Regions from separate parts of the Homo sapiens genome. Here regions 1, 3, 4, 5, 6 and 7 are each linked to region 2. The links are contacts of gene promoters, found by promoter capture Hi-C in blood cells and fetal thymus (Javierre and others, 2016). All regions are on one chromosome and are shown on one strand. Each heading gives the region's core, a stretch centred on a gene start or on the middle of the fragment in contact. The rest is flanking DNA. Distances are from core to core; before and after follow the strand shown. Region 1 holds the start of CHD1 (chromodomain helicase DNA binding protein 1). Region 2 holds the start of ARRDC3 (arrestin domain containing 3). Region 3 overlaps XRCC4 (X-ray repair cross complementing 4). Region 4 has its middle 110 kb from the start of CHD1. Region 5 holds the start of RPS23 (ribosomal protein S23). Region 6 overlaps LOC107986437 (a long non-coding RNA gene). Region 7 holds the start of RGMB-AS1 (RGMB antisense RNA 1).

What was found. Contacts are between HindIII fragments. The CHiCAGO score rates a contact against its expected background, and 5 or more counts as called.
Region 1: a contact is called between the fragment with the promoter of CHD1 here and the fragment with the promoter of ARRDC3 in region 2, in 10 of 17 cell types (fetal thymus, naive CD8 T cells, total B cells and 7 more). The highest score is 29.9, in fetal thymus.
Region 3: a fragment that was not itself captured here is called in contact with the fragment with the promoter of ARRDC3 in region 2 in 1 of 17 cell types (total B cells); the score reaches 7.5 in total B cells.
Region 4: a fragment that was not itself captured here is called in contact with the fragment with the promoter of ARRDC3 in region 2 in 1 of 17 cell types (non-activated CD4 T cells); the score reaches 16.8 in non-activated CD4 T cells.
Region 5: a contact is called between the fragment with the promoter of RPS23 here and the fragment with the promoter of ARRDC3 in region 2, in 1 of 17 cell types (total B cells). The highest score is 5.7, in total B cells.
Region 6: a contact is called between a fragment that was not itself captured here and the fragment with the promoter of ARRDC3 in region 2, in 1 of 17 cell types (activated CD4 T cells). The highest score is 5.3, in activated CD4 T cells.
Region 7: a contact is called between the fragment with the promoter of RGMB-AS1 here and the fragment with the promoter of ARRDC3 in region 2, in 3 of 17 cell types (non-activated CD4 T cells, activated CD4 T cells and naive CD8 T cells). The highest score is 13.4, in non-activated CD4 T cells.

What each region holds. Positions count from the first base shown.
Region 1 is chr5:98,927,412-98,931,262 of GRCh38, forward strand. It overlaps CHD1 (chromodomain helicase DNA binding protein 1), which reads right to left and starts at 1,596. Exons shown (of 36, transcript NM_001270.4): 1 at 1,128-1,596. CHD1-DT (CHD1 divergent transcript) reads left to right here and starts at 1,151. Exons shown (of 4, transcript NR_151718.1): 1 at 1,151-1,231. It overlaps LOC100289230 (a long non-coding RNA gene), which reads left to right and starts at 1,723. Exons shown (of 1, transcript NR_036530.1): 1 at 1,723-3,598. RefSeq lists silencers at 740-1,369, 1,630-1,839 and enhancers at 1,613-2,511, 2,000-2,329. The HindIII fragment of the contact is 7,543 bases long and covers 1-3,270 here.
Region 2 is chr5:91,381,220-91,384,877 of GRCh38, forward strand. ARRDC3 (arrestin domain containing 3) reads right to left here and starts at 2,098. Exons shown (of 8, transcript NM_020801.4): 1 at 1,594-2,098. The coding sequence starts at 1,873. The region is part of intron 1 of ARRDC3-AS1 (ARRDC3 antisense RNA 1); the gene reads left to right. RefSeq lists a silencer at 2,005-2,314 and enhancers at 2,168-2,685, 2,565-2,864. The HindIII fragment of the contact is 1,076 bases long and covers 1,837-2,912 here.
Region 3 is chr5:83,079,378-83,083,502 of GRCh38, forward strand. All of the region lies in intron 1 of XRCC4 (X-ray repair cross complementing 4), which reads left to right. Among named protein-coding and RNA genes, the nearest start is that of XRCC4, 3.9 kb to the left of the region's middle. The HindIII fragment of the contact is 2,083 bases long and covers 1,636-3,718 here.
Region 4 is chr5:99,032,408-99,036,536 of GRCh38, forward strand. No RefSeq gene overlaps it. Among named protein-coding and RNA genes, the nearest start is that of CHD1, 110 kb to the left of the region's middle. RefSeq lists an enhancer at 1,017-1,076. The HindIII fragment of the contact is 912 bases long and covers 1,262-2,173 here.
Region 5 is chr5:82,276,737-82,280,735 of GRCh38, forward strand. RPS23 (ribosomal protein S23) reads right to left here and starts at 1,618. Exons shown (of 4, transcript NM_001025.5): 1 at 1,584-1,618; 2 at 957-1,116. The coding sequence starts at 1,587. It also overlaps the pseudogene ATP6AP1L. RefSeq lists an enhancer at 1,609-1,938. The HindIII fragment of the contact is 8,285 bases long and covers 1-2,119 here.
Region 6 is chr5:100,903,718-100,907,835 of GRCh38, forward strand. It overlaps LOC107986437 (a long non-coding RNA gene), which reads left to right. Exons shown (of 2, transcript XR_001742825.3): 1 at 1-1,952. Among named protein-coding and RNA genes, the nearest start is that of ST8SIA4, 2.5 kb to the left of the region's middle. RefSeq lists an enhancer at 728-967. The HindIII fragment of the contact is 1,569 bases long and covers 1,972-3,540 here.
Region 7 is chr5:98,770,290-98,774,333 of GRCh38, forward strand. RGMB-AS1 (RGMB antisense RNA 1) reads right to left here and starts at 2,795. Exons shown (of 2, transcript NR_033932.1): 1 at 2,333-2,795; 2 at 1-895. RGMB (repulsive guidance molecule BMP co-receptor b) reads left to right here and starts at 3,374. Exons shown (of 3, transcript NM_001366508.1): 1 at 3,374-3,917. The coding sequence starts at 3,782. RefSeq lists enhancers at 72-572, 2,951-3,000, 3,736-4,044 and a silencer at 3,221-3,850. The HindIII fragment of the contact is 10,132 bases long and covers 658-4,044 here.

The DNA of each region.
Region 1 (3,851 bases), core at 346-2,845, 7.5 Mb after region 2:
GAGCAGAGCTGTCCTCCGACCTCAGCAAAGAGAATTCACTCCTACGATTATTTCCATTCCACAAGAGAGGGAGGGAAACAGATTGTTACCAACTCAATGATAGCAAAGTCTGCATCTGGATCAGGATGTTAATTCTCTAGACTACTGTCCAGTAGACTCTGCAAGAACAGGTTATCTAAAAAGTAACCGTTCTACTCAACATTTATTCCTAATGTTAAATATTAATCTCAACCCTAGTCAAAGTGCCTTACTGAACAATTAAGTCTTAAAAAATCTAAGTATGTTAACAAACTGCCTTTCCCGTTTCTTCCTTTAAAAAGTTCACTCCCCTTTTCGTTCTTTCCTTTTCACCTTCCTTTCGTCCCTCAAAATGGCTTTCTCTGTACATTTTAACTTCCTTTCCCCTCCATCTCCCTTATCCGAATAAGTCCTCTGAGACCCTTTTCACAACCCTGAGTTCTGAAGCTCCAAGCGCACACAGCGCTGTGTCCTCTCAAGCGTCTCCACAATGACTACCCTAAGTTATTAAACCTCTTCAATCCTCTGTCTTTTAGCAGTTGCTTTGCTCCTGCTAAGTTTTTAAAGCGGCACTCGAAAGAGGTTTGGAAACCATCCTCACTCATCCATCCAGCGCGCTCCAATCAGCCTCCCTCGCGGACCTGCCCCCCTCTCCCAGGGCCTCCATCCCGGTCCAGGAGTCCCTCTTCCCGCCTCAAACTTCCCGCAGACCCGCCCCGCGCCCTCCCAGGCTCGCCCGAGCCGCCGCCCCCTCCCCCTCCCGCCGCTCCCCACGTGCTGGGAGCCCGGGTCGCGGCAGGACCCACGCACCGGCTAAGTGCTAGCCATTCGCGGGTCTCCTCTCGCGGCCCGGTCGGCACCAAGCCGAAGAGGCCGGGGCAGGGCCGCCGGGCCGGCGCAAGGATGCGTTCTGCGGCCCCGGCCTGTACTCGCCGCTCACACGCCCCCTGCGCGCCAGGCCCGTACACCGCCACCGGCACTCACAGAGCCACCCGGCCTTCACCCGGCCGCTGGGCCGCCGCCTGGGCACCGCGCCGCGCCCGCCCTCCGCCCGGCCGGTTCCTGTCCTCTCCGCCACATCCTGACCCGCCCGCCGCCCCCTTTCTTACCGGCGGGCTTGGCGGGGCGGAGGGAGCCGACTCGGGTGGACGGCCTCCCCCGCGCCCAGGCCCGGGATCTCCGCCGCCCAGTCCTAGGGCTCCGGCGTCTCGGGGTAAGCAAGAGTCCGTGCGGGGGAGGGGGAAGGGGACAGACGCGGAGGGGAAGGGGAAGCCCCGGTCCGCAGCACCAACGCGCGATCCCCTGCGGAGTGGAGCTAACAATTCATTATTGAAGCACCAAGGGCGAGGGCAGCAAGAGCTATAAGTAACCAGTCGTCGCCGCCGCCGCCGCCGCCGTCGCGCGCGCGCTCCCGCTCCCTCCGCTTATCTGCCCCCGGCAGCCGCCATGACGCCGAGAAAGCAAGCGAGCGCAACCGTCTCCGTCGTAGCCGCCGCCGCCACCGAGGTCGCCGTCGCCTCCGCCTCCCGCGCGACGTAAGCGCCTCTGCTCACTCCCCTTCCCGACAGAGCGCGAGGCGGGCGGGCGCGCGCACGCCGAAGCCTTTCTGCTCGCGCGCGGGAGGCGGGAGGGACTACGTTGAAGGGTCGTGGGCGTAGGAAAAAAGCGATTGGTGCTGGGGCGGGGCGGGGGGGGCGAGTGCGCGCACGCGCACGAATGGGAGTGCGCACGGCGGATGCGCAGAGGCTGTCGGACTCTGACTGCGCGGAGACCGCTGGACTCTGGTCGCGGCCTTAGTCCGCTGATCCTCGCTTGGGTGCCCGCCCTTAGCGGCCCGGCGTTGAATTCCGGGAAGTGGGAGCTTCAGGCTCGCTCCGTGCGGGTATGGGCGCTAATGTCACTTGGGATGGTTGCGCAAGGACATCGCGGCGGACACTGACAAGGAACCGGGGAGGAACGGGGGTGGGGAGAGACTGCGATGGGACTCGGGAAGCCGGGAAGGGCCGCGCTGAATAAGCCTAAGGGGCCGGGTCGCAAGGAGTGTCGGGTAGCACAGGCCTCGGCTCAGTCGGAGCGCCAGGCCTCAGGGTCCGGGCGGGGGCTGCTGCGTCACACCAGGCAGCCTGGGAACGCAACTGTTGGGCAACCGTGGTGGCCTCTCGCCACCTCTTACGCTTGGGCGATCTGCGATTGACGCATCCTGGGAGCTGATGTCCCGCACGGGCGGGGCGCCGGAGGAGGAGAGAAAATAGAGACCCGGTTGTTGACAGCCTGTGATGCCGCTTGATTCATGTGTGGGTGGCCTGGTTTAGAAATGTACCACCCTTCCTTTCTAGGTTCCTCCCCGGAGGGCGGGGTGACGGGTGCGGCGCCGAATCGCAACAAAAAACGCTGCTCGAGGGATGTTAGTAACTGTCTCAGCTTAAGTTGCTGCCTTTTAGCTTACAGTTTGTATCGTAACTGTAATTGTGGATCTTAGTTAAATCCCTTCAGTGTGTTGGAAACATATTTTTAAGTGTATTTTTGAAACATACTTAGAGCATTTTGAAATGCTTTTTTGAAAGCGTTTTTTAAATCAAAATTCTGTTACACTTTATTTTTTTCAGTCTGCAGATGAACTTGACTCACTCAAGGTTAATGATTTTTGTTTTTTATTTATGTTTGTAGAGGCGGGGTTTTGTCATGTTGCTAGGTTGGTGTTGAACTCCTGAGCTCGAGCGATCCACCTGCCACTGCCTTCCAAAGTGCTGGAATTACAGGCGTGAGCCACGGCGCCCGGTGGCCGAGGTTAATAATAATTAAAAGTTTCTAATCCCATTGTTCAGTTATTTGATTTGGTGTAAAGGCGCACTTTCCAAGTCAGATGAGTTTGTGGTAACATACATTCCCCAAATAATTATTTTTCCCTTGTGGGAAATATTCCAGTTTTAGGCTACCAGCTGTTTAAACAGTTTGGTTCAAATCCTTCAAAAAAATCTCAAAACATAACTCCACATATGTATTTACTACATATTGAAGGGTGTATTCACTTGGAGAAGTAGGAGAAAGCAAACAGATGCCAATGGCCTTTTTGAAAACATGTATCTATCAGCAATAATTGAATAGCAAAACGAAGTGGAACACTACCATCCTTTGCAATATTAGATAGTTTTAATACTGGGTTGTGAGGAATGAAAAGATCATACAAATCGTCATTTCTGAAGTCATTTCTGAAGTCGTCATTTCTGAACTGAGTGCTAATTTTTCATATTAAGCTTTATGTTAATATCCTTAATGAGAGGAACTTCCTGTGCCCGTAATTTCTCCAGAGAAACTATTAACATACACAGAATGTTGTAATCAGAAGTATAGTTCAGTTAATAAAGTCCTCAATTACAACTCTGACATTTTGTCATTGTCTTATGAAAAGAATTACTGTATATACAGTCTATTTTACGTTTTCCGGAAGCACGTCAGGCAGGTTTTTTGTTTTTTTACTACTAATTGTGCCATTGAATATGCTATTCTGTCGTATTGTGCCATCAAACATGCTATTCGAAAAAAGATCTTGCCCAATTTGTAATAAAATATTGAACATTGGAGATTTAGATTTCGAGTAAAATCATACTTTATTGCTTTGCAGAAGTACACAGTAGGTGGAAAATTGCAACAATCTTGCCAGTTCATTTTTTAAAAAGCGTGTAGGTAATCCAAAGATACCTTTTTGATGATTTGTTATCAACATAGTTAAATTTGCAGTGTCACTTTATTTGAATAAACTAGCTTTATCTCTACTTAGTGGTACTAAAACAATAGCCAAACAGTTGATAATCTCAACACATGACTAACGAAAA
Region 2 (3,658 bases), core at 848-3,347:
GGGGTGCAGGGCATTTAGTTTTCTTTACCACGAAATCATGGTGCAACTAATGAAATTATATTTGTCCTCACATCTCGTTGTTCTACTTTTCCCCACTGCAAGTCTTAACCCCTTGAGGAAAAATCTGTTTTCTTTCATCCGTTTCATAAAAGGCTGCAATATTCAGAAAGGTACAAACACAAAGTCATCTATCTGCTTTTCAACAAATACCAAGGCTGTCATTAGGCATTTGCATCTCCTATCAGTGTTAACACTTGGAGAGATTAATTAGTTATTTCAGGATGCAAAGTACCTGTATCTAACTACGAAAATCCTGCTAAAGAACTGAGTTCACCTTAATAGTTTCAAAAATAATGCATTAATACTGTCCCTCAAAGCATCCTTCATTTCTCACTTGCCTTAGTCATCAGCACTTCTCCAGGATGTACGTTTTTAATATAAAAAATAAGGTAAAATATGTCTCTAATTTTTTTTCTGAAAAATCGCCAACATCTGAACTAAATACTGCATTAAAAAGGAGAGGCACAAAAATTACATAACCAGTTTTAACATTATATTCTTCTTGGGCTAGGAATTAAGTCATCGCCACCACCTGACGCGTGTAACCAATCTGCTGAGAGCAGAACAAGCGCCCCTCCTCACCACCCCCCAGAACTGGTCCGAAACAGGATTGAACCGCTTCTAACAAAGGGTGGAAACTTAGAAAAACAAGCCTAGAGTCTCCTATATTTCCACAATGTAACCATTTAAACAATAGATTGGAAATCTCAGGACTCCTTCTCCTTTTGACAACCCTTTATCTCTCTCTTCTAACCAAAAATCAAATCCAGTGTGCCCTATACTTTTCAATTCCATTTGACTGGCATGGGTTTCATTGAATGCACGTTCCAAAGTTAGACATGATGCTCGGAAAAGAAAATTACTGATCCTAAATGGCTTCTAAACCTGACTCGATACCTATCATAATGACAGATAGTCATTCCTTTAAAATAAGGAATGCTGGGTGTAAATTTTTAAAGGAATGGTAAAGAATAGAGAAAAAACACGTGGGGTGTTGATACCATATGTCAAAATAAGCCACAGAAATCTTTTATGAAAGAACAGTCATCAATTATTTAAAGTCTTTTGCATTCCAATATTAAAAATGAAACACACCCATTAAGTCTCTTAAAAATGTTATTACATTTCTTGATCGAAGTTCAGTTTTTACATCTTAGGTTGCAAGTAAAAGGGCAAAAATCTAAGACTGCAGCTTTTACCAATTCATTTGAAAATATATTAGTAAAACGACTGAATTGGATTCAAACAGAATTTATAAGTAAGGTGCAAATGGACTACAAGTGCGTGTGGCACAGACCGAGCCGGGTACAGAGGTAGCTGAATAAGTGTAGTTTGCAGTCACTTTGCAGATGCCTGCATGCATTACGGCTTAACACACGATGAACGTCAAGGAGAATCCAAACCTTCCAACTTTGCTAACCTTTCTCAAACTGCTTAGTTATGCTAGGAGTAGAATCACGTTAATTCAGAAAACTGAAAAGGTACGTTTCCAAAGAAAATGAGTCCAATGACTTATGAATAACAAAAACTTACCTCTTTCGTGCCCAATTAAGATGTCTTTATGGTTGAAATACTCTACTTCTTCAGTGTAATTCTGTGTATAGGCAGTATTGGAGCCGGCGTTTCTAGATTCAGTCCAGCGTACTTTCGCATGTCCTCTTGCATGAATTTTAAGAGATTTTACTCTGATTTCCCCAGTAACTTCTAAATTTACCCTTCCTGAGACGGTATCCCCACTAGAATACACAGGGACATTGCTGTCATTAAGACAGTCAAAGCTTATTGTCAAACTCTTCACCTTTCCCAGCACCATGTTTATAACAAAATCTATAAAAATATAATGTAAGACAAAAAAGTCAAGATCGCATATAAAATGTGATCTTCACTTAACACTGATCGATATTTTTGCCGTGCAAAATGCTTGCAGGCCGGATCAGTGATTCTCTACAAATAGTTCATTGAGATTTCTTAAAAAGTCAGGGCAGCAGAGGCTGCTGCTCCGCGCTCCCGCTCGTCTCAGTGGTCTCCTTACAAAGACGGGCGGCTAAAAGCTGCCAGCTCACTTTAAGAGCAGCTTTGTGAAAAACAACCCCAGTGCGCAGGCGCAGGCCGCGGCTGCTGTCCGCCCTCCCTGCGCGCCCCCTCCCGCGCCGCGCCGCGCCGCGCTCGCTCCCTTGCCCGCTCGCTCCCGGGTACAGTAGGTGTAGAGCTAGGGGAAGGAGATACTGGAGCTGCTGGCCGGCTGAACCTGACTTCTCTTCATTGTGGGCTCCTATTGGTAGGCAGGCTACCGTATACCCTCGACGTGCTATCTGGAGCCCGTTACCGAGCGCACTCTACTAGAAAGATAATGGCAGAGTGGGGTGCGAGGGTACAAGGGCTGGGTGGGGAGTTTGCAAAGCCAAGTTAGGATAAACTGCAGCGACCAGCCCGAAGCGTGCGTTACCGGCACTGCAGCGTTTTACCAACTGCCTGGATGGGAGGAGGAAAAAGTGATGTGTGAAGAGAGATGGGGGAAGGGAGAAACCGGTTGGGCAAGCGGCCGATTGTTGAGCATAATCTAACGAATTTCCAAAGAAAACGTAATAAAACCGGACAAGAAATATTGTTCATAGACAAGAGCATACTTTGCTTGGATTTTTTTTTTTTAAACCAGTACTTTGTAGGCAGGTTGGAAATGAACTCAGTCGAGGTCAAAGGAACCTTAATCCTTTGAAGAGCGAGGTAGAGAAGCAAGTACAATGTAATCAATAGGCTTTGCTGTCTCCTCAACTTCTTTCTCCTACATTGCTTAATTAGCACCGAAAAACAACCAAGTTGTTTCCAGGATGACACGGGTGGGGGCTGGGGGAAGCTTGATCACTTCCTCGAAGGAAGAAAAAGTCCTTTTAAGACACCACCTACGGCTAGATTTGCAGAGTAAGACATGATTACAACTCCTGTGTCCAGAGGAATAAGAATAGAGTTCGGCCTAAAAAAGTACTACCTTATAAAAGGCATATGACATAGTGGTTTAGCTGACATATTGTTTGCAACAGAATCGGAAAATCTTTGTTAGAAATTAGTGAAGCGCATAAAATTGTTTTTAAAAAGCATGATTTGGTATATAAATAGGGATTTAACTGTGTGAAGCTTTAATTTTCGGCCGAGAGCCTTGGACCATTTAACGTAGTAATTCTCATGATACATCTTAAATATAGGTACATTTCTCTTTTTATTGTGAATGTTTGGTAAAAAATAGCAGTGCTTTCGTCACATCACACTGGGATTCAGAGCATAACAGCATAAACTCATCTAGATTACTGGCAATCAACAGAACTGCCTTACAAGAGAAATGTAGAAAGAAAAAATATGAATCTGGTGCTCTCTCTATATATATATGTATGACCAAAAATACCTTGGAAGATTTTTGGCTGTCCGTGTCTAAACGTTTTAGATTCTTTTGCGTAGTGTATATGGATAGGTTGAGCCTATGAGTCACAATAAACTAAACTTATTGGTCTTGCTGTTTTATTTCAAAAGAAACTAAGCTTTTGGGGGTTGGATTTTAGTTGACAAGGCAATATCTTGGACTCAACAGCAATATATAAAGAGTATA
Region 3 (4,125 bases), core at 1,427-3,926, 8.3 Mb before region 2:
CATAAACCCCCTACTTTTTGGTTTTCAGATTATATCACAATTTCTAAAATCTTTCTGGCAGCTTTGCAGTGAATCCTCATTTAAAACCATCTTGGATCCTTTCCTTACTAGAAATAAAATCTGTCTGTGTTATTCCTTTGTTCAAAAATTATTATTTATTTTTATTTTTGAGACAGGATCTTGCTCTGTTGCCCAGGGTGGAGTGCAGTGGCACAATCATGACTCACTGCAGCCTCAACCTCCAGGGCAGAAGCGATCTATCCTCCTCCCTCAGTATCCCCAGTAACCGGGACCATGGTTGCATGCCACCATACTTGGCTAATTTTATTTTATTTTTTGTAGAGACAGGGCTCACTATGTTGCCTAGGCTGGTCTCAAACTCCTGGGCTCAAGTGATCCTCCCGCCTCGGCCTCCCAAAGTGCTGGGATTACAGGTGTAGGCCACCGCACCACGTCTGGCCTGTTCAAAAAGTATTATCTCACCTGCATCTGGAAGAATATTTCCAACTTTGGTTTCATGGGTATATTAAAATCGTATGTAAAAATAGTGGATATTTGTAGTTTTCTGTGGCGCCAGTGCACAGGTGTCCTCAGTGTTATGAGGATTACATGAGTTATTACAAGTAAATCATCTAGGCAAATGTTTGGCATACAGTAAGCACTCAGAAAGTGTTGGCTATTACTGTGCATGGCTTTGTCTTTGCTAAATTAAAAGTCCCTGGAGAGGAGGAATTATAATGGAGGAATGGTTGAATTGCATATATTAGGCACTAAATACAGTAGTCCCTCCTTATCTGAGGTTTTGATTTCTGCAGTTTCAGTTACCCATGATCAACCACAGTCTGAAAATATTAAGTAGAAAATTCCAGCCGGGTGCGGTGGCTCATGCCTGTAATTCCAGCACTTTGGGAGACCAAGGCGGGCAGATCACTTGAGGTCAGGAGTTTGAGACCAGCCTGGCCAACATGGTGAAACCCCATCTCTACTAATATACAAAAATTAGCCAGGCGTGGTGGCATGTGCCTGTAGTCCCAGCTAGTCAGGAGGCTGAGGCAGGAGAATCAATTGAACCCGGGAGGTGGAGGCTGCAGTGAGCCGAGATTGTGCCACTGTACTCCTGCGTGGGCAACAGAGCGAGACTCCATCTCAAAAAAAAAAAAAAAAATTCCAGAAATAATGCATACATTTTAAATAGCATGCCTTTCTGAGTTGTGATGAAATCTTATTCCATCCTATCCCATTCAGCCCGGGGCCATGAATCATCTCCTTGTTTAGCGTATCCCTGCTGTATAAGCTTCCTGCCTTTTAGTTGCTTGGTTATCAGATTGATGGAGGTGGTATCACAGTGCGTGTGTTCTAGGAATACTTATTTTACTTAATTATTGCTTCAAAGCACAAGAGTAACGACGCTGGCAATTTGGTTATGCCAAAGAGTAGCTGTAAAGTGCCTCTTTTAAGCAAAAAAAGGAAAGTTCTCCACTTAATAAGGAAGAAAAGAAATCCTATGTTGATGTTGTTAAGAACTATGGTAAGAACAAATCTATCTGTAAAATTGTGAATAAGCAAAAAGAAATTTATGCTAGTTTTACTGTCACACCTCAAACTGCCAAACTTATAGCCATAGTGCATTATAAAAGCTTAGTTAAGATAAAAAAGGAATTAAATTTGTGGTTAGAAAATGTGAACAGAAGCATGCTCAGATTGAAGGCAGTTGGATTCAGCCTCCTCACGGGGCCTTGGGATATACACCCTTGGATAAGGAGAGGACTGCTATAAAAGGTTTTAGTATTAAGTTGGTATTGCATTTGTATCACCAGACCACTTTCTCCCCATTTTCTCTTTTTACTTTGTTGCTAGTGTTAATGATAGGGTTGATTTACATTACCTTTTACATTACCTACCTTTTTTCATTCACTGTTATTCACATATATTGAAAGACAATTGTTCTGCTTTTTTCCTCTTATCCTCAGCTAGCCTCCCTAACCTCAGGTAGAGGTTTTTCATGTTCCAGTGTTTGTCCTTTTTTTCTCCCCCCTTGTTTTTATTCCCTTCCCACATGGCTTTTCAATTCAGACTGAAATGTACTTGAGGACCAAAGTTAATACAGTTTTATTCTGTTAGGGATTTTTGTTAAATAAGTAGAGTTTCAGCTGCCCTTGTCACACACAAAAAATAAGATAGATGATAGGTGTTAATCTCCTTGACTAAAATAACCATTTTACTATCTGTGTGTATCCTATAATGTCAACTTGTAAACCTCAAATATACACATTAACATTTTTTAAAAAAAGAAGTTTCACCAAAAAAGACACTTCTATTTAATGTATGTCTTATTTCTTTTACCTTAAGAAATGTTTCTCTTAACCTTTCTCCATTTTCAACCCCATTTGTTTGCTCTTCTCTGCAACAAAAATCCTCTAAAGAGTTTTCTATGCTCCATGTTCCAATTCCTCTTTTTCTACCTCTGCATCTTCATTGGTATATTTAAAAGATATCTTGAACTCAGATGTCCCAGACCGAACTCCTTTCCTCCCAAACCTTTCCCATTCTTTCTCATCTGAATTGATGGCAACTTTATACAGCCAGTTGCTCAGTTAAATCTTTGGAGTCATCCTTGACTCCTTCCTTTCTCTTGTATTCCAACAAATCTGTTGGCTTTTTCTATGAAATATATCTAGAATTCAACAGTTTTCTACTATTTCTGCTATTAGTATACTGATCATCTCTTGCTCAGATTTTTGTTATTACCCACTATCATTTCTTGCCTGGATTATAGTAATTGTGTTCTGTTCTCTCTGCTTTTTTCAGTCCTTGCCTCCCTACAGTCTATTCTCATATGTCAGCCAGAGTGATACTTTTAAAATATAAATAAAAAATTGTGTATTTACATGTAAGATTCTAAATGCAATATGTTATGCTAGATTGGATCCTGAAACAGAAAGAGGTTATTAATGGAAAAACTGGTGAAATCCAAATAAAGTCTATGGTTTAGTTGATAGAAATGTATCAGTGTTGGTTTCCTGGTTTTGATAAATGCACCGTGGTAGTATAAGATGTTAATATTAGAAGAAATTGGGTGAGGGGTATATGAGAACTTTCTATTATCTTTGTAACCCTTCTGTAAATTCAGAATTATTTCAAAATAATATACAGAAGAATAAAACATTACTTTTTTGCTTAAAAACCTTTCGTGAATCATTTGATTCATAGTAGAAGCTAACAGCCTTACGTTGGCCTACAATAGTCTACATCAGTCTTGTCCAACTTACAGCTCACAGGCTGCCTGTGGCCTATGATGGCTTTGAATGCGGCCCACCACAAATTTGTAAACTTTCTTAAAACATTATGAGATTTTTTTTTTTTTGAGCCCTTTAGGTATCATTAGTGTTAGTGTATTTTATGTGTGGCCCAAGACAATTCTTCCTCCAGTGTGGCCTAAGGAAGTCAAAAGATTGGACACCTCTGCTCTACATGATCTGGTCTCCCATTACCTCTCTGACTACATGTCTTTGTATTCTCTCTCCCTTTGTTCCAGCCATACTTACCACCCTGTTTCTTAAGTACACTAGGCCTACTTCTACCACAGGGCCTTTGCACTGACTGCTGCTTCTTTCTAGAATGCTTTTGGATCCATACAGCTATTCCTTCATAGCTTTTACATGTTGTTCAAATGTCACCTTTGCAGTAAAGCATATCCCAACCTCCCTATTTAAATTGAAGCTTTGCAACTTCCATAGCCCCTACCCCTATCTCCTCCACCCTGTTTTATCTCCTCTTTTTACTTCAGCGCTTATCATTATTCTATATATGTATTACATATTTGTTACATGTATTTTTAATTGTGTTCCCCTATTAAAATGTAAAATCCATGAAGGCAGGCATTTTTATCTGTTTTGTTGTCTTATGCCACATTCTAAAGCATTTGTCTGAGGCATAGAAGTACTCAGTAGGTTTTGTTTGAATGAATGACTGACTTGATTGGGTGTTTGAATCTGTAATTTTTTTTTTTTTTTTTTTGAGATGGAGTCTTGCTCCGTTTCCCAGGCTGGAGTGCAGTGGCACAATCTCTACTCACTACAACCTCTGCCTCCTGGGTTCCAGCAATTCTCTCTTCTCAGCCTCCTG
Region 4 (4,129 bases), core at 468-2,967, 7.7 Mb after region 2:
GTAGAGGGAACACTCATTGCTGCATTAAGATCAAAGAACCTTCCGAAATTTTGGTTGCTCCAAGTACCAGAATCAGCTGTCATTCTGTTGGAAGCAATAGGGAAAGGGTAGCTCACAACATTTTTTTAAAAAAGTATTTCTCAATCAGTCCACCATTTACTGGACTAGGCTACAGTGAACTGCATAATTTTATGGAATCTCGTTTTTCAGGGTATCTTGTTAACCAATGGGCTGACATTCTCTTTGCAGGAGCTCCACCAAGTGGTCATCCAGCTTGTGGGCGAAAGTCAGAAAAACAAATTAGGAATCCTAAGAAAGACTGACTGATAGCCGAGTAGAGCAGTCTGAAGGTAGATAAACGTGAACCCTCCATCCATAGGGAGATTCAGATACAGGCTTCATGTTTAGACAAGACATCTGCTTTTCCTCACCATTTGTTTTTGGTAACTTTCTGGTCCTTATATGAACTATGCCTGCCCTTTGACCTCATGACCCCATATGCTTTGAGCCCTCCATTTTCTCCTAATCAATTAGTCTCCTTCTGTCTTCCCATTTTCCCTGTTCAGCTCCACACACTGGTGTCCACTACTTAAATTATGCTTTCAATATTACTTTCAACTCTTAATCCAGCCATCCTGTTTCTCTGACTCTGGAACTGAGCAGCTGAGAGTTCTTGGAGAAAAATCACACAGCCATACCAATTGATGTCACTGTATGTTGTTGCTTTCTGACCAAGGCTGAGTCCTCAGTTATGGTGAAGGTGCTTCTGATCAACTGACAGTGGGTATTCCAAACATTTACTTCCCTTACTGTCAAAACCACCAACTCTTCTTACACTCAGCAAATGATGATTCTGTCCTTTTCATTGTGAAAAGGCAAGGGCAGAAAGTGAAAACGGCACCTTCCTCTCCCTCTTACTTATTCGCTTATTTATTGGCATTTTTACTTCTCCTTCCTGTTGGAAAAGGTGCCCATCTAACTCGAGGCTCATTTCTCAACCTGTAGATTGGATTCCATCCTCTTCTGTGTACTCAATGACTTTATTATATCAATCATCGCCCTCTTTCCTGTTTTACTTCAGAAAATAAACAGAACAGTGGTTTGTCTTATTGAAAATGAAAGCAAAAGTAAAATTACCTTGGCAGTTTTGGGTCTCTAATTATAAGCCAAAGAAACAAATTGAGAACAACTTATGGAAAAAATGATATTCATTGGAAATATACTGGTATAATGCAGAACAGAAGAAAATACTAAACAGTCAAGCTTCCTGAGGGCAGAAAGTACAGGACCACTGAAATGAAACCGTGGACATGCATAATCATGTATGTTTACTAAGGTTCAACTACCTTTCCTCCTTGTGTCACCACTTAAGATTTAGCTCCTAGGAAGGAAACATTTGATTGGCCAAGCCCACCAGAAACATGTGCAGAGGAGATGCTCCTGATACCTGCACCATTGAATTCCATAAGGCACAGTTCAGGGAACTTTGCTTTGTCCTTATTTTGTTTGATTTATCGGTAGCAGTTCTCCTTCTGGAGTCCTTCTCCTTTGTTTTCTGTGGCATTATTCTTTCCTTAAAAAGAAAAAAGATAATTCTTTTTAGTCTCCATTGTAGGTTCCCTTTTTTTCTGCTTAAACAGTAAGTGTTATCTTCCTCATGGGTTCAACTTCGATCACTGTTATATTACAAACTTCCTCCTGCCAAATCTTCGTTTTGAGTTTGCGATGGAACCTACGATTGAATTTCCAATAAAATTCAGTATATCTAAAAGTGAACTTATGTATTTCAAACCTGCGCTTTACTTGAATGCCACATTTTCATAAATGGCATATCTCTTATCCAGTCACCCAATCCACTTCCCTGGGAGTCTTCCTAGGTCACTCTCACTTATACTCAATCAATCCCTAATCCCTGTGGCTTTTAATTCCTTGGTATCTCTTGTTCTCCTCTTTCCTAAACTCATAACCACTTTTTAAATTAAGGTCTTAATGACTTCTCACCTAAATTGCTACATTAGCCTCCTCAAAAGGTTTCCTTACACATCATACTCCGTTTCTTACAGAGTGATCCTTCTAAAATGCTAATCTGCTCTGCAAACTCAGATTCAGTCCTTTATCTTTCAGGATAAACTTCAAGGCTTAACCCACACATTCTGTCTTTGGCCACTTTCCAAGCTTCAGGGATGGCTACTTCCTTACTGCTATATTGTAAAACAAGCAGGTTTCCAGTTGGAGGGACTAGAATTGTTTTTTAACCTTGACTGAATGTAAGAATTTCTGGGGACATATTAAACATGCAGATTCTTGGCCTGACCCTAAACATATTAAATTGGAATCTCCAGGAGTGGGGCTTATGTCTCTACTGATTTTTTTTTTTTTTTTTGAGACAGAGTTTTGCTCTTGTTGCCCAGGCTGGAGTGCAGGGGCGTGATCTCAGCTCACTGCAACCTCCACCTCCTGGGTTCAAGTGATTCTCCTGTCTCAGCCTCCTGAGTAGCTGGGATTACAAGTGCCCGCCACCACGCCCGGCTAATTTTTTGTATTTTTAGTAGAGACAGAGTTTCATCATGTTGGCCAGGCTGGTATCAAACTCCTGACCTCAGGTGATCCACCCGCCTCGGCCTCCCAAAGTGCAAGGATTACAGGCGTGAGCCACTGTGCCTGGCAGTCTCTACTGATTTTTATGATCAAGCCAGTTTGTGAATTAATGATTGACTGTTTCTAGGCAGTCCTTTTACTTATGCTGTTTGTTCTGCAATTCCCAATCCCCTTGTCCTTCAATAGTTTAGTTAGTGTCACTTTACAGGTGACTCTCATTCTTACTTAGAGGCCTCTTCTCTGTGTTCCTGTACCGCGTAGGACTATCTCTGTCTTAGTACCCATCACATAATATTTGACTAACTTACCTATCTTATAACTGCTCTAAAAACTTATCTTTGTTTTCCCAGTACATAAAAGACAAACAGTAGGCATTTGGCAAAAATTACTTTGATATGTAAAAACAAATAAAAAGCTCACTACACTTTTTGCTGTTATGGATTCTTTCTGTTGCTTTATCTCTAAGGAGTTACTCATAAGATGAATATTGTTCAATTACTTAAAAACACCATTATTACTATGATTCCTTTAAAATCATATTATAGAATAATATTTTTTGATATGTGAAAATATTATAATGTACTACTAAGGGAAAAATAGGCTAAAATTTATATAATATGACTTTTTTGGTAAAAATTTTAAAACAAATTAAGTTAAAAATGCATATATAAAAACATATTGAGAAGACATACATTGTAATTTTATTACTCTTTGATTATGAAATAATGGGTGATTTTGTATCTACTTTCTATCAGAAGTATGTACATCTAAAACTTTTTTTATTTGTATAAATTTAAGGGCACAAGTGCAGTTTTGTTACATGGATATTTTGGATAATGGTGAAGTCTGGGGCTTTTAGTGTGACCATCTTCTGAATAATGTACATCGCACCTATTAAGCCACTTTTCATCCCTCACTCCCCTCCCACCTTCCCATCCTTCTGAGTCTCCAGTGTCTCTTACTCCACACTCTATGTCCATGTGTACATGTTACATTGCTACCATTTGTAAGTGAGAACATGTAGTATTTGACTTTCTGTTTCTGAGTTATTTCACTTAATATAATGGCCTCCAGTTCTATCCATGCTACTGAAAAAGATGATTTCATTCTTTTTTATGGTTGACTAGTCATTCATTGTATGTACATATACCACAGTTTCTCTACTCATCCATTGACAGATACTTAGGTTGATTCTAAGTCTTTGTTACTGTGAACCATGCTGCAATAAACATGAGTACAGATATCTTTTCAAGATAAAGATTTCTTTTTCTTTGGGTAGATACCCGGTAGTGGGATTGCTGGATCAAATGGTAATTCAACTTTTAGTTCTTTGAGAAATTTCCATGCTATTTTCCAGAGAGGTTGTACTTATTTACACTCTCATCAACAGTGTATAAGCATTCCCTTTTCTCCACACCCTCACCCACATCTGTTGTTTTTTGACTTTTTATAATAGCCATCCTGGCTTGTGTAAGATGATATCTCATTGTAGTTTTAATTTGCATTTTTTTGATGATAAGTAATATTAAGC
Region 5 (3,999 bases), core at 368-2,867, 9.1 Mb before region 2:
TGGAGTGGCAGCGTGGGCCTGTAGTCCCAACTACTTGCGAGGCTGACGTGGGAGGATCTATGCCTAGAACGTCAAGATGGCCAGCCTGTGTGACAAGGGACCCTATCTCAAAAAAAAAAAAAGAAAAAAGAAAAAAGGTATCTGAGGTAAGAATTAGAAAGTCTGGGCCGGACACAGTGGCTCACGCCTGTAATTCCAGCACTTTCGGAGGCCGAAGCAGGCATTATCACCTGAGGTCAGGAGTTTGAGACTAGCCTGGTCAACATGGTGAAACCCCATCACTACTGAAAATACAAAATATTAGCTGGTGTGGTAGTGGGCGCCTGTAATCCCAGCTACCTGGGAGGCTGAGGCAGGAGAAATGCTTGAACCTGGGAGGCTAAGGTTGCAGGGAGTCTTGCGCTACTGCACACCAGCCTGGGTGACAGAGCTAGACTGTCTCAAAAAAAAAAAAAAAAAAAAAAAAAGTCTGGGTTAAAATGGCTCTACCATCAAATATGATAGAACTATATGAAATTATTATTTTAAAAAGTCAAAACCAGTCAAATACTGGCAGTTTCATGTCTCAATCTTAGGTGTATGACCTCAATTAATTCTGATGCAAGTCACTTCTCTTCACCTTAGTTTTATCAAGTCGATAAAGTTCAATAGCTGACACGTGCCATTTACTTATAACAACTCCCACAGTAAAGGTGTTTGTGTCCTTTACTTCATCATTGCTAGTATCTTCTCCAATTCCTTCCAGGCCAACGTTAAATTAAAACCTTAACTACCTAATTCCCAAAAACTAATTTTACCAACTTTTAAATAGAACAAACGCTTTGCAATTTTACCCCACAATGCCCAAATGAATACTACTACACAAAAACCTGCAATTACTTTCAAAACAAGAATTCGTAAGTTCATGTCTCGAATTCCTATAATAAACTAAAACTTGACGGGAGCAATGGACTTACACTTTTTCCAGCACGATTCCTTTTGCATGAGAAGCACCTCCAAAAGGGTTGGCCTTTAGGGCTGTGCCCAAATGAGCTTTCTTATACTGTTTATCATGCCACTTCTGGTCTCGTCGGTGACTACGGAGCTTCCTAGCAGTACGAAGTCCACGACACTTGCCTAAAAATTAAATATTTTAGTTCTTCCGTAAAAACACGCCATCTACGTGTTTCCCATCTTCTAAGACACTCGCCTCACCTGGAATAAACCCTTAAGCCGATTGGCTCTCGTACTATTTATTGGCCTGTGGGCCAAACATTTGGCCTTCAAGTTGCCCTGAACCGACTAATAAACGTTCGAAGAGGGCTCCGGAGAATGTGTTCTCCCGAAGGACGAGGCCCCGCTCGAATGCCCGGGAGGAAGCGCTGGCCTCCCTGCGTCCCTCGGTACCCCGACCTCGGCGGCCTCCACGCCTCATGGGCCCCTTCCGCGCCGGACCACGTGCCTCCTGGAGCGGCGCTTCCCCGGCCCTCCCCCATGGAGCCTCTCCATGGCATCCCCCGCCCTACTCTATTCGCATCCGCCCGCCCGTCCCCAAGACCCCAAGTCCCGCTTGCAGCGCCCTTAAACCGGCCACAACAGCTCACCCATCCTGTCGGCGCCACGGGCCTGAGCGAAAGAGAGAAGCACCGCAGGAAGGAGCCACAAGCCACCGCGAGCAAGCCCCGCCCAGCCAAGGACCCCGCGCCGCTGTCTGCGCCGCGCCTGACCCGAGGCTGGGGTCTCTCCTTTGAAAACGACGCGTTTGCATCACTTTCCTGAGCCAGAATCTGCGTCTTATTTAATTTGCAAGAAATTCAGAGATATCTAATTTGCATGGTTTTTTTTCCCCCTTTTTCTTTTGAATGCTGGAGACCGGAGGAACATGGACTACCAATCCCAGAATGCGTTTTATGGGACCCGCTCACCGCGCAGGCGCTCTTGCCCAAGCCACTGAGAGCGGGACGCGGGGCTAGGTCAGAGTAGGAAGGAGTCGCTGAGCTGAATCTTTGTGGAGTGGAGTGGGGCGAGAGTCCTCCGAGTAGTCTGGAAAATTAGACTTCTGAGCCTTAATTCATACTTATAAGCAGCTAGTAAATTGTAAAATATAGTGAAGCAATGTAGTGTAGTAACTAAAACCCCAAGCTTTGGAGCCAGATTGGGCCTTTAACCCTAAAGTTGCCGTTTATTTTGACTGGCGAGTCATTTACTTATAGATTTATTTATTTTTATTTTTATTTTTTTCTGAGACAGGGTCTCACTCTGTCTTCTAGGCTGTTGTGCAGTGGTGCGATCTTGGCTCACTACAACCTCCGCCTCCCGGGTTCAAGCGATTGTCCCACCTCAGCCTCCTGAGTAGCTGGGATTACAGGCTTCCACCATCACGCCTGGCTGATGTTTGTATTTTCAGTAGAGAGGGGGTTTCACCATGTTGGCCAGGCTGGTGTCGATCTCCTGACCTCGAGTGATCCGCCCGCCTCGGCCTCCCAATGTGCTGGGATTACAGGCGTGAGCCACCGCGCCTGGCCATTTAATTAACTCTTTAATACTGTTTCTCCTGTAAGATGAACTAGCTGTGAGAGGTTTCTGGGATATTGGTTCACTCAGCAAGGATGTTTAAAAATGCCTTCTATGTGCCAGACGCTGTTGTAGGTACCGGGAATATGGCGGTTAAATTAAGAGGGTGAAGGTTTCTGCTCTGATACAGTTTATATTCTAAATGTGAGAGGACAGACCAGTTAGATAGATGTAAATTAAATAATTAAATAGATGATTTTTACATACTGTAGAGCTATAGAGAAAATATAGCTGGATGGGTGATAGTGACTTGGGGATGGGGGTGGCTACTCTGGATAGGGTAGTTTAAGGTGACATCTCTGTGCAGATGTAGAATGGGCTAGTGCTTTCTAAGAACTGAAAGATCAGTGAAGAAGGGGAGCATAGTGACTGAGGAGTAGTGTGGCATTAGATGGGGTCTGAGAGTTACACAGGAACATGTGGAGCCTGTAGGCCATGGTAAAGCCTTTTTCTACTCTTCTGGTGATTTAAAGCCATTGTAAAGTTTTGAGCTTGGGAGTAGGTAGCAAAATAAGATTTATATTTTTATGGGGTTACTCTGGCTGTTGAGAGGAGAAAAAGACATGAATCTGGGAGGCCACTTGGGAAGGTATTGCAATAGTTCAGATGAGAGATGGTGATAGCTTGGACCCTCAGTGGAGACAGTAAAAAGTGGTTGGGTCAGATACACTGTTTGGTGGTAGAATGAACAGAATTTGCTCAGGACTGTAGGATGTGAGAGAGGAGTTAATTACAGCACTATGATTTTTGACCTCAGCACTTGGGTGAGTTGTAGAGTTGTGAGTTGTGAGTTGGGTGAGTTCCAAAGTGGGAAATACGAGGAGAGGAGCAAATTTCAAAGGAGGAAATGAAGAGTTCTGGTTTGGATGTGTTAAGTTTGAACTGTCAAACATCCAGGGATGTGAAGTGGACAGTTGGATATATGATAAGAAGCTGAGGAGTAATCAATGAATAAATAGTATTAAAACTGTGGCTCTAGTTGAGATAGCTTAGGTGATGACTGTAGGTAGAACAGAGATTAGAGTCCTGAGCACACCAAAGTTTAGTGGTACAGAAGAGAAGGCAGGTGAAGCAAAACAGATGAAGAAAGAGTGGCCAATGTTACACTCTGTTCAAAGCCAAGTGAAGAAGGGAGTGAGAAAGTGTGAAAAGAGATAAGATGAGGACTGAGAATTGCCTTTTGGACTTGAAAATGTGGAGATTACTGGTCACTTTGTCAAATGGGGACTCCATGGAGTACTGAAAGTGAAAGGCGATGGGATCGGAGTGAAGAGAATATGGGAGGGAAGGAAGTCTAGACAGCAACTATAGACAATTTTTGAAAGACATTTTTTATGTGCAGAGAAATGGCACCCTATTTGGAGGGGAATGTGGAGTTGGAGGGTTTTATTTTTAAGATGGCAACTTTTATGACATTTTTGTATGCTGATCAGGTTGAGAAAATTA
Region 6 (4,118 bases), core at 1,506-4,005, 9.5 Mb after region 2:
CTCCAAGGTGGAGTGAAACGGGGTGCGGGGGTGGGGACGGCGGTGGAAGGAAGAAGACTTTTATTACTCAATCTGGAAAGTGCAAATACACACATGAACCTGTTAGCCGATGGGCCCACTCTGCATGGGTGGTGGACGACGACCCTGGCTCAGGATTCTGCAGGAAACAAGTGATGATAGAGGTGTCATTAGGAACTTTATGGATATTTATGCGCCTCCCTTTCATTGCCATTTGGAAACTCCTCACGCAGAAGTCAAGGAAACTCCAATCCCACTTAAACTTCATTGCGGAGAAACAGAGTTCTGAAAAAAAAGCAGCTACCATGGACCTCTCTTTTAAACGCAAGTACACCCACACACATTCGGATACCAAGGAAGGAAGGAAAGAAAGAAAGGAAAGAAAAGGGAGGGGAGGAAGGAAGAGCAAAGTCCTCTCTAAAAGTCTCAATTATATATATAGCCTCTGATTGTCACCTCTCCTCCGTCCCACCATTTTTCGTACTTGTATTGGGTGGCAGGGACACTTTTCAAGAGTTCTGTGTTCGATTGTTCACTCTGAGTACCTCTCCACCATCCTCCAGTCGTTGCCCTCATTGGGAGAGATGCTTGCTACTCTGCTAGTACCACGCCTTGGTTCCGGTCTTTACTGTTGGCTGGTAGGTCGGGAGGCACCTCTAGCATGAGACAGTGTCTGGAAGCCAGGATTTCCCTCATCTATATGCGCCGGTCCCCAGCTCCCTGGTCGCCAGGGTTTCTCTCCAGTTGAATTCCGTGTTCCTTCAGGTTGAACAGTAGCTTCAGCGGTTTTTCACGCTCAGAAATGATGAGGCCCAATTCCAATCTTCCCTCCCGCCGGAAGTAAGAAGGGGAATTCTGAGTTGCTTGTCGCCTGACAGCTTAAAATAGCAACGAAAACAGCCAGCATCTTTGCTTAAAAACCCAAGGTTCCCGCCAGTGTTTACCATACTTCCTCTAGAGTTTAAGAAGTTAAGAACTTCCGAGATCTTGAATTTCCTCTTTGCAGCACAGCGAACGGGGTCGGGTATAAAAATGCTCCAAGGAGCAAGTAATTACGAACGTTTATTGACACTACAAGTGGCCCACAGGGAGCCTTTCGAGTTTATTGATGTCTAGGCAAATCCAGCCTGCATTAATGCATTTCTGTTAGATTGACTTCTGTTAGACTCACTTTTCTTCTGGCAAAAACTGCCAGAATAAAACAGCTTCTTATTTAAGTTAAAAGGGATCCGGGGCTGAGGGCAGGGGTCGGGTGGGAGAGGGATGCATGGTTAGGATGCTAAATTCTCAAGGATAAACTTTGATTTTTAAACAGTAGACAACTATATTTTAGATTATAGGTAAAACATCACTCTCTGTCAGGGATAGAGTAATATGCATCGTTTCATTAAACTCATTATTTCTTAAGCAATGGTTATGGGGCAGGCAATGTGTGCGGAGATGGGAACACAAAGATGAATAAAACTTAGCATCTAGTCAGACACAAATCCTACTCACTCAAAGGGGGCATCTTTTAAAAATAATAATTTACAGTATGGCAACATGAATCAGAAACATCATTTAAAATATATATGGTATCTGAGTAAGCTCCTGGGTTGAAGCAGATGGGGTGTTTAAGCCTTTTGAAGCCCGGAAGATGAGTTTCCGGGTGAAGGGGACACACAGACTCCTGTTTTCAAAGCTGACAAGGAAGTAAGCCAAGCAGAGGGAGGATAGAACATTGCAGGTGGAAAAAGGAGTATGCGCAACTCCAGAGAGTAATAAAACTCTGGTGCTTTGGGGCAACTTTGAAGTGGCTCAGTACTGTTAGAAGGGAAAGTGGTAAGGGAGAGTGCTGGTCCAAAAGTTTCGGTGTACTCATAATATTCTATGGCTCCAGAGTGTGGAACAGTCTTCTGTAATGAGAAAGCCACAAGAAAATCTTCAAGAGGAAAGTGAGTATAATCTATATTAAGCTTTAAATTACATTAGGGGAAACTACTTACCTAGCCCAAACAGGAAAAAACAAACAAACAAACAAAAAAAGAAAAGAAAAAAAAAAAAAAAAAGAGCGAAACGAAAGCAATCAAGAACTAGTTATAGGAACACATAAGACAAATTTAAATGTCCAGAAGAAAAATAAGTGAACTCTCCAATTGTATAATGCTGCTGTTTCTGAATTTTTTAAGTACAGAACTTTTTATATTAAGGCGAGCAATTCTGAATGACTGATAACTGTTCAGCGAGACTCCAGGAATTCTTCTTCCCAAATTAAAGCAATTTAGTGTTTGGAGTGTAATTGAATGCCATTTGTTTAATATTGTTAGATTCGTTAAATATATAGCCATTATAATTTGCCAATTAAAAAGAAGCCATACAGGCCAATACTTAGACAAAAGTGAGGACAGCATGGTTTTTTCTCAATATGTAAATAGGTGCAAGAACTATAAATATTGGATAAAAAGTCTTTTGGAATTAACTTCTATTAGAATGCTTAGTTTGATGTTCCTGAGCACCAAAAGACTATAAAGAAGTCTTTTGGAATTAACTTCTTCTATTAGAATGCTTAGTTTGATGCTCCTGAGCAAATAAGATTGTTTCTAAATTTTCATTTGATCTTTGGATTGTAAGTTCTTCAATAAAGAGAATATATTTGTCTTTATTCAGCACAATTCTACAATTATACAATAGCCTATAAATAAATAATGTGAGTAATGGCAGCTGGTTTTAAAATGATACTTTATCCTTTGACTTAATGTAAATTCATGTTTTCATTGCTGGCTGTACTCTCAAATCTAGCTGGCAAGAAATGAATAGATACTTGCAGTCTCATGGTGGAGTTTTTAATGACCCATGACATTTTTAATAGACTTTTTTTTTTTTAGAAAACATTTAGGTTTATGGCAAAATTGAACAGAAAATAGAGAGTTCCCATATAACTCTACCTTCTCCCCATACTCAGTCTCCCTATCAACATTCCTCATCAGAGCAGTACATTTCTTTTTTTACATTCAATGAAACTACATGTACATATCATTATCACCTACAGTACATAGGTCATATTAGGATTCATTCTTGGTGTTGCACATTTTATGGGTTTTGCCAAATATATACTGAACATATATTCACCATTATAGTATAATACAAATTAGTGTCACTGCCCTAAACATCCTCTGTAATCTGATTATTCATGCTTCTTTCTCACTCCCGGTCACCCCAGGCTCTGACTTCCCTAATGTTTTTACTGTCTCCACAGTGTTGCCTTTTCAAGTGTCATATAGTTGGAATCATAGAGTATGTAGCTTTTTCTGATTGGATTCTTTAACTTAATAATATGCTCCATTATTTTCATGGCTTGAAAAACAAATTTTTTTTCATGGCTTGAAAGTCCATTTTATTTTAGCACTAAATAAAATTCATTATATGGATATATCAAAGTTTATCCACTCACTTACTGAAGGACATCTTTATTGCTTTCAAGTTTGGGCAATTATGAATAAGGCTGCTGTAAACATCTGTGTACAGTTTTCTGTGTAGATGTAAAGCTTTCAACCCAGTTGGGTAAGTAGAAATAAATAAGATTGTTGGATTATATGGTAAGAATATGTCTAGTTTTGAAAGACACTGCCAAAGTGACTTCCAAGGTGGCTGTACCATTTTGCATTCCCATCAGCAATGAATGAGAGTCCTTGTTGTTTCATATCCTTGCCAACATTTGCTGTTGTATTGGTTTAGATTTTGACCATTATATCAGATGTGTAGTAGTTGTATCTTACTGTTGTTTTAATTTGCAATTCCCTGATATTATATGATGTTGAGCAATTTACACATGTTTATCTTCTATGGTAAGGTGTCTGTTCAGAACTTTTGCTCAGGTTTTTAATCAGGTTCATTTTCTTACTCTTGAGTTTTAAGAGTTCTTTCTATATTGTGGATAACAGTTCTTTATCACATCTCTTTTTGAAAATATTTTCTCTCAGTTTGTGGCTTGTCTTTTCATTCTCTTGACAGTTTCTTTCACAGAACAGAGGGTTTTAATTTTAATGAAGTCCAACATATTAATTATTTTATTGATGATTCCTTTGATGTTGTATTTAAAATCTAAACCTAAGATAAACTAG
Region 7 (4,044 bases), core at 1,545-4,044, 7.4 Mb after region 2:
AAGCTTTTAAGGCCTTCTTGGGAGCGAGTGGCTGGCTAATGAGAGGTTAATTTTGTTTCGAAGGGAAGGCTGCACTGGTTTCCTGAGATAAATGGACAGGAAGCGCATTACCTCCGCGCGCTGGCAAGCGGCTCCCAAATGCTTTTTGCACCTGCCGTTTTGAGCGGTGAGAGCAGCGGCGGAGCCCGCAGGGATTGCGGGGGCCCGTTGTCTACGAGCGGGTGATGAGCCCCCCGCAAGCCCCGGGCTCTCTCCCTCCGCGAGTGCATTGCTCACGCCAAGCTTTGGGACTCTTCTCTCACACCCAGGTCCTGCGTGTTCCGAAGTTCAGGGGCCCCCTGATCCCGCTGAGCCCCCTCCAGGAGCGAAAGGGTTAAGAATGATGTAAGTACAGGCACTTGATTTCTCAAGTCGCCCGCTTGGCCCTCTTCCAAGTTGTACTTTCCTTATTTTCTCTCCTTTCCTTTCCTTACTGTTCTAACGCTTTTTAATAAACTTTCACTCTTGCTCTGAAAAAAAAAATGATGTAAGTACAAACCACGAGCTGCTTGACGCTGAGCTGTTGGACTCCGGGCTATTTCAGCCGCTGCTTTGGGTACACAGTGGCCGGGGAGCAGCCGGGGAGCCCTTACTCTAGAAAGGATTGCACAAATCGCAAGCTTAGGTGATCTGTTAAGCAGTCAGAGATTCTCCTGTTAGATTTCTGGAAATGGAGACATATTAACTGGAGAACAGTTAAAAACATCACGTATAGGCTCAGGAAATGAAACTGCATCTTGTTTAGAATCCATTAGTGTTTCTGGCATGTGTTTTAATTCTGTCCACTTGCACGTTCATGCCGTAGTATGCTTTGCTGGATTCTCCGGATGTACTGTTCAGGTCTCCTCCTTCCTTTCTGAAAACAAAGAGAAAGGGAGAAAGAGTACCAGTGGCAAGAAACAGGGTGGATGTGTGAATTACACAAGTCATCAGCCACTTCATGATTTTTTTTCTGATTAAAACATAAAACTTTTATAAGTCACCGATTTTTTTGTTTGTGTTCTAGCTCCCTCCCCGATTTTTCTTTGTACAATATAAAGTCGTTTGTAACTTGCAGCTCACGGGCTTGAGGAGTGGCTGCGGTATAAGCGACTATTCACTACGCTCTTGCTTTCCAAGCCAATTCCTGATCTTGTGAACAGTACGAATTTACCCGCGAGTGTGTCAACTGACCTATGTCTTGAAAATAGGAACCACCTTGCGGTTTACTTGTGAAAATTAGCATTTTCCTCTAGCGGCTGAACACTTATGCAGCAATAAAAAGTGAATTGTTAGGCTTATAAATCTCGAGCTTGTCAAATTTTACAACAGAGGAGCAATAAAGCACCTTATAGAGATGAAGTTTTTCCTCTGAAGAACAGTTCCGTTTAACGACACCAGGATTTGCAATGACTCGAGGACGCCCTCTATTGATAGGAAAATCTAGAGCACCCGTGTACTTATGGAACAGGATATAGGGGGAGGGGAGTAAAAAATCATAGAAAGTCACGAGTGGAAAGACCCAAACCAAACAGAAATTATTGATCCTTAACTATTGAGTATATGCTTTGAAGTATGATCAATAAAGTGAGATGCTGCTTTTATAGGGGTCGAATTAAATCTTGGGTTAAGAGAAAAAAATGTAGTCTTTGTTAGCCAAATACTTTGAAAATCAGTATTATGTTTGATTACTTTTTTAAGATGCTTCTTAGTATGTCATGAACTGTATCTAATTATATGAAGTAATTGCAAGATAGTAAATTTTTGCTCTAATAATACTTAGTCCGCAGCATTATCTAAAAATGTCATATAACTTCCTCCCCAAAAGTCATTTCTCCAGGCAACTGTGAAGCTATTATTAAGCGTATTATGGATATACACAGGCTTGGATTATATTGTGGATAGTGAAAGGTGTGTTTACCCCTTAAGTCATCATAGTATGTAACAAGTAAGTAATGAAAAGTTACAGTAAAAACAGATAGGCATCCTTCATTAGGGACCTAGTGGTTTGGGCAATTCAAAATGTGTCTAATAAGTGAGCTGGTGAGACTGAAGGTTTGCCCCTCAATTATCCTAGTCCATTGATTAGCTCATTTAAACATGTGTGGAATATCAGCATGTCCGTGGTTGATAAGAAATTCCTAATTAGAGATTCTGAGTAACATAGCGGGTACAGTTGCCAACTACGATTTGGATGTTAGTGGATTTTAAATGGCAACCCTGTGCTGTTTGGGGAAAGGCAAAGGCGAGGGCGGTATCAAGTGTCTCTCAGCCTTGAGGTCATTCTTGAGATTAGATACCACTTCACACCTACCGATAACAAATTGGAATCTATCATCAGTCTCATAACTGCTTTTCTGTCTCCACTTGGCAGCCTCTTTCTTTGTAGACAATTGTCTTTTTCCTCACTTTCGGACCCATCCGATCATAAAAGGAGAAAGTGAGCTGCCATTGAATTAATCCGTAGAAATTTGTGGAAAATTTAAATAATCTGTAGAAATTTGTGAAAAAGCCACTGAGCAACAACAAATCGTGGCATAATTACACTGCATAAAAACCCACCACTCTCATTAATTACACTGTAACCGAACGTTGAAGTTTGCCCACTCTTAGACCTCTCCTTGCCGCTTTCAGGAAGGGAAATGTCAAACTAGAACACCTGAGCCTCGCACAGCTGCCAGCGAATTCCGGCGGCAGTTCGCGGGTACCTTCCCAGCCCATCCTATCTGCTCCGGACCGCGGGTGACATTCAGATTTCCAACACCGCCCCGAGCTTGCTTTACCAGACACCCTCAAACGACTCGGAACGCGGTTCCGCAGATGTGATTGGCTGAAAGGGGACCTGCCGCGCGGCGCTCTGTAAAAGCGCCTGCTTCCTCCAAGGAGGTGGAGCTGAAGCTGGCAGGGCCAGGGCAGGGAGGGGTAATTAAATTAAAAAAAAAACTTGGAGGGAAGATGAATCGGATCACATTAATTCAAGGAGAGGTCAAAGGCCGGTACCTTTGTAACGCCGGCGAGAGTAAGACTTGCGGTCGCCCATTTCTGTTGGGCGCGAGGAAACAGTAAATCGCGGAAGGGGGTAGAGGGGGAAGGAAAGGGAGCGCGAGGCAGCATGCGGCGCAGGAGAGAGGACTTGGAGTCGATGGACAGGGAACTCGAATTACACTGAGCGGGCGGGGGAGAGGGCCCTCTGGGTCCTGCGATTGGCAGGCTGAGTCGGGCTGACGTGCGGTCACAACCAATGGGGAGGAAGGGAGGGACACGGCGGGGGATTATGGCGTCGTGGATTGGCGGGCACAGGGCGGGGCGGGACGGCAGTGCGGGACTGAGATTGATCGACCGCGGGGGCTGCCGCGCAGAGATATCCGGGCCGCCGGTGGGTGGTCGCTAGGGCTGGGCCAGCCTCTTGGAGGTCCACGCCCGCCGAGCCCACGCTGGCTGGGGCCGGGGTGCCGGCGCGCTCGGGACTCGTCTCAGCAGTCGCTCACGGTCTTTGTGTCTTCTCTTCCGCCCCTTTCCCTGCCTGCCGCCTCCGGCCGCCACGATGCCCCTGCGCCCCGCTGCTGCCGCCGCGGACTGGCTGCGCCGGCTGCGCGCTGCTTGCTGCGGCGGTGGTGGCGCCCCATCTGCTACACGGGCCTGAAGAAGGAAGAAGAGGAAGCGAAGCGCGCCCCCCGGCCCATGCCGCAGCCACGGGCCCAGACCCGCCACGGCGCCCGCGCCGCCGCCCTCGCCGGAGCCCACGAGACCTGCATGGACGGGCATGGGCTTGAGAGCAGCACCTTCCAGCGCCGCCGCTGCCGCCGCCGAGGTTGAGCAGCGCCGCAGCCCCGGGCTCTGCCCCCCGCCGCTGGAGCTGCTGCTGCTGCTGCTGTTCAGCCTCGGGCTGCTCCACGCAGGTAGGACGGGAGCGCGCGAGGGGAGCCAGCCCCGGGGCCTAGGGCTTTGTTCCCAAATAGCCCCAGGTCTCGAAGGCGCTCGCCGGGGCGGAAGGGCGGCGTGGCGCAACGGGAAAGGCCTCCCGAG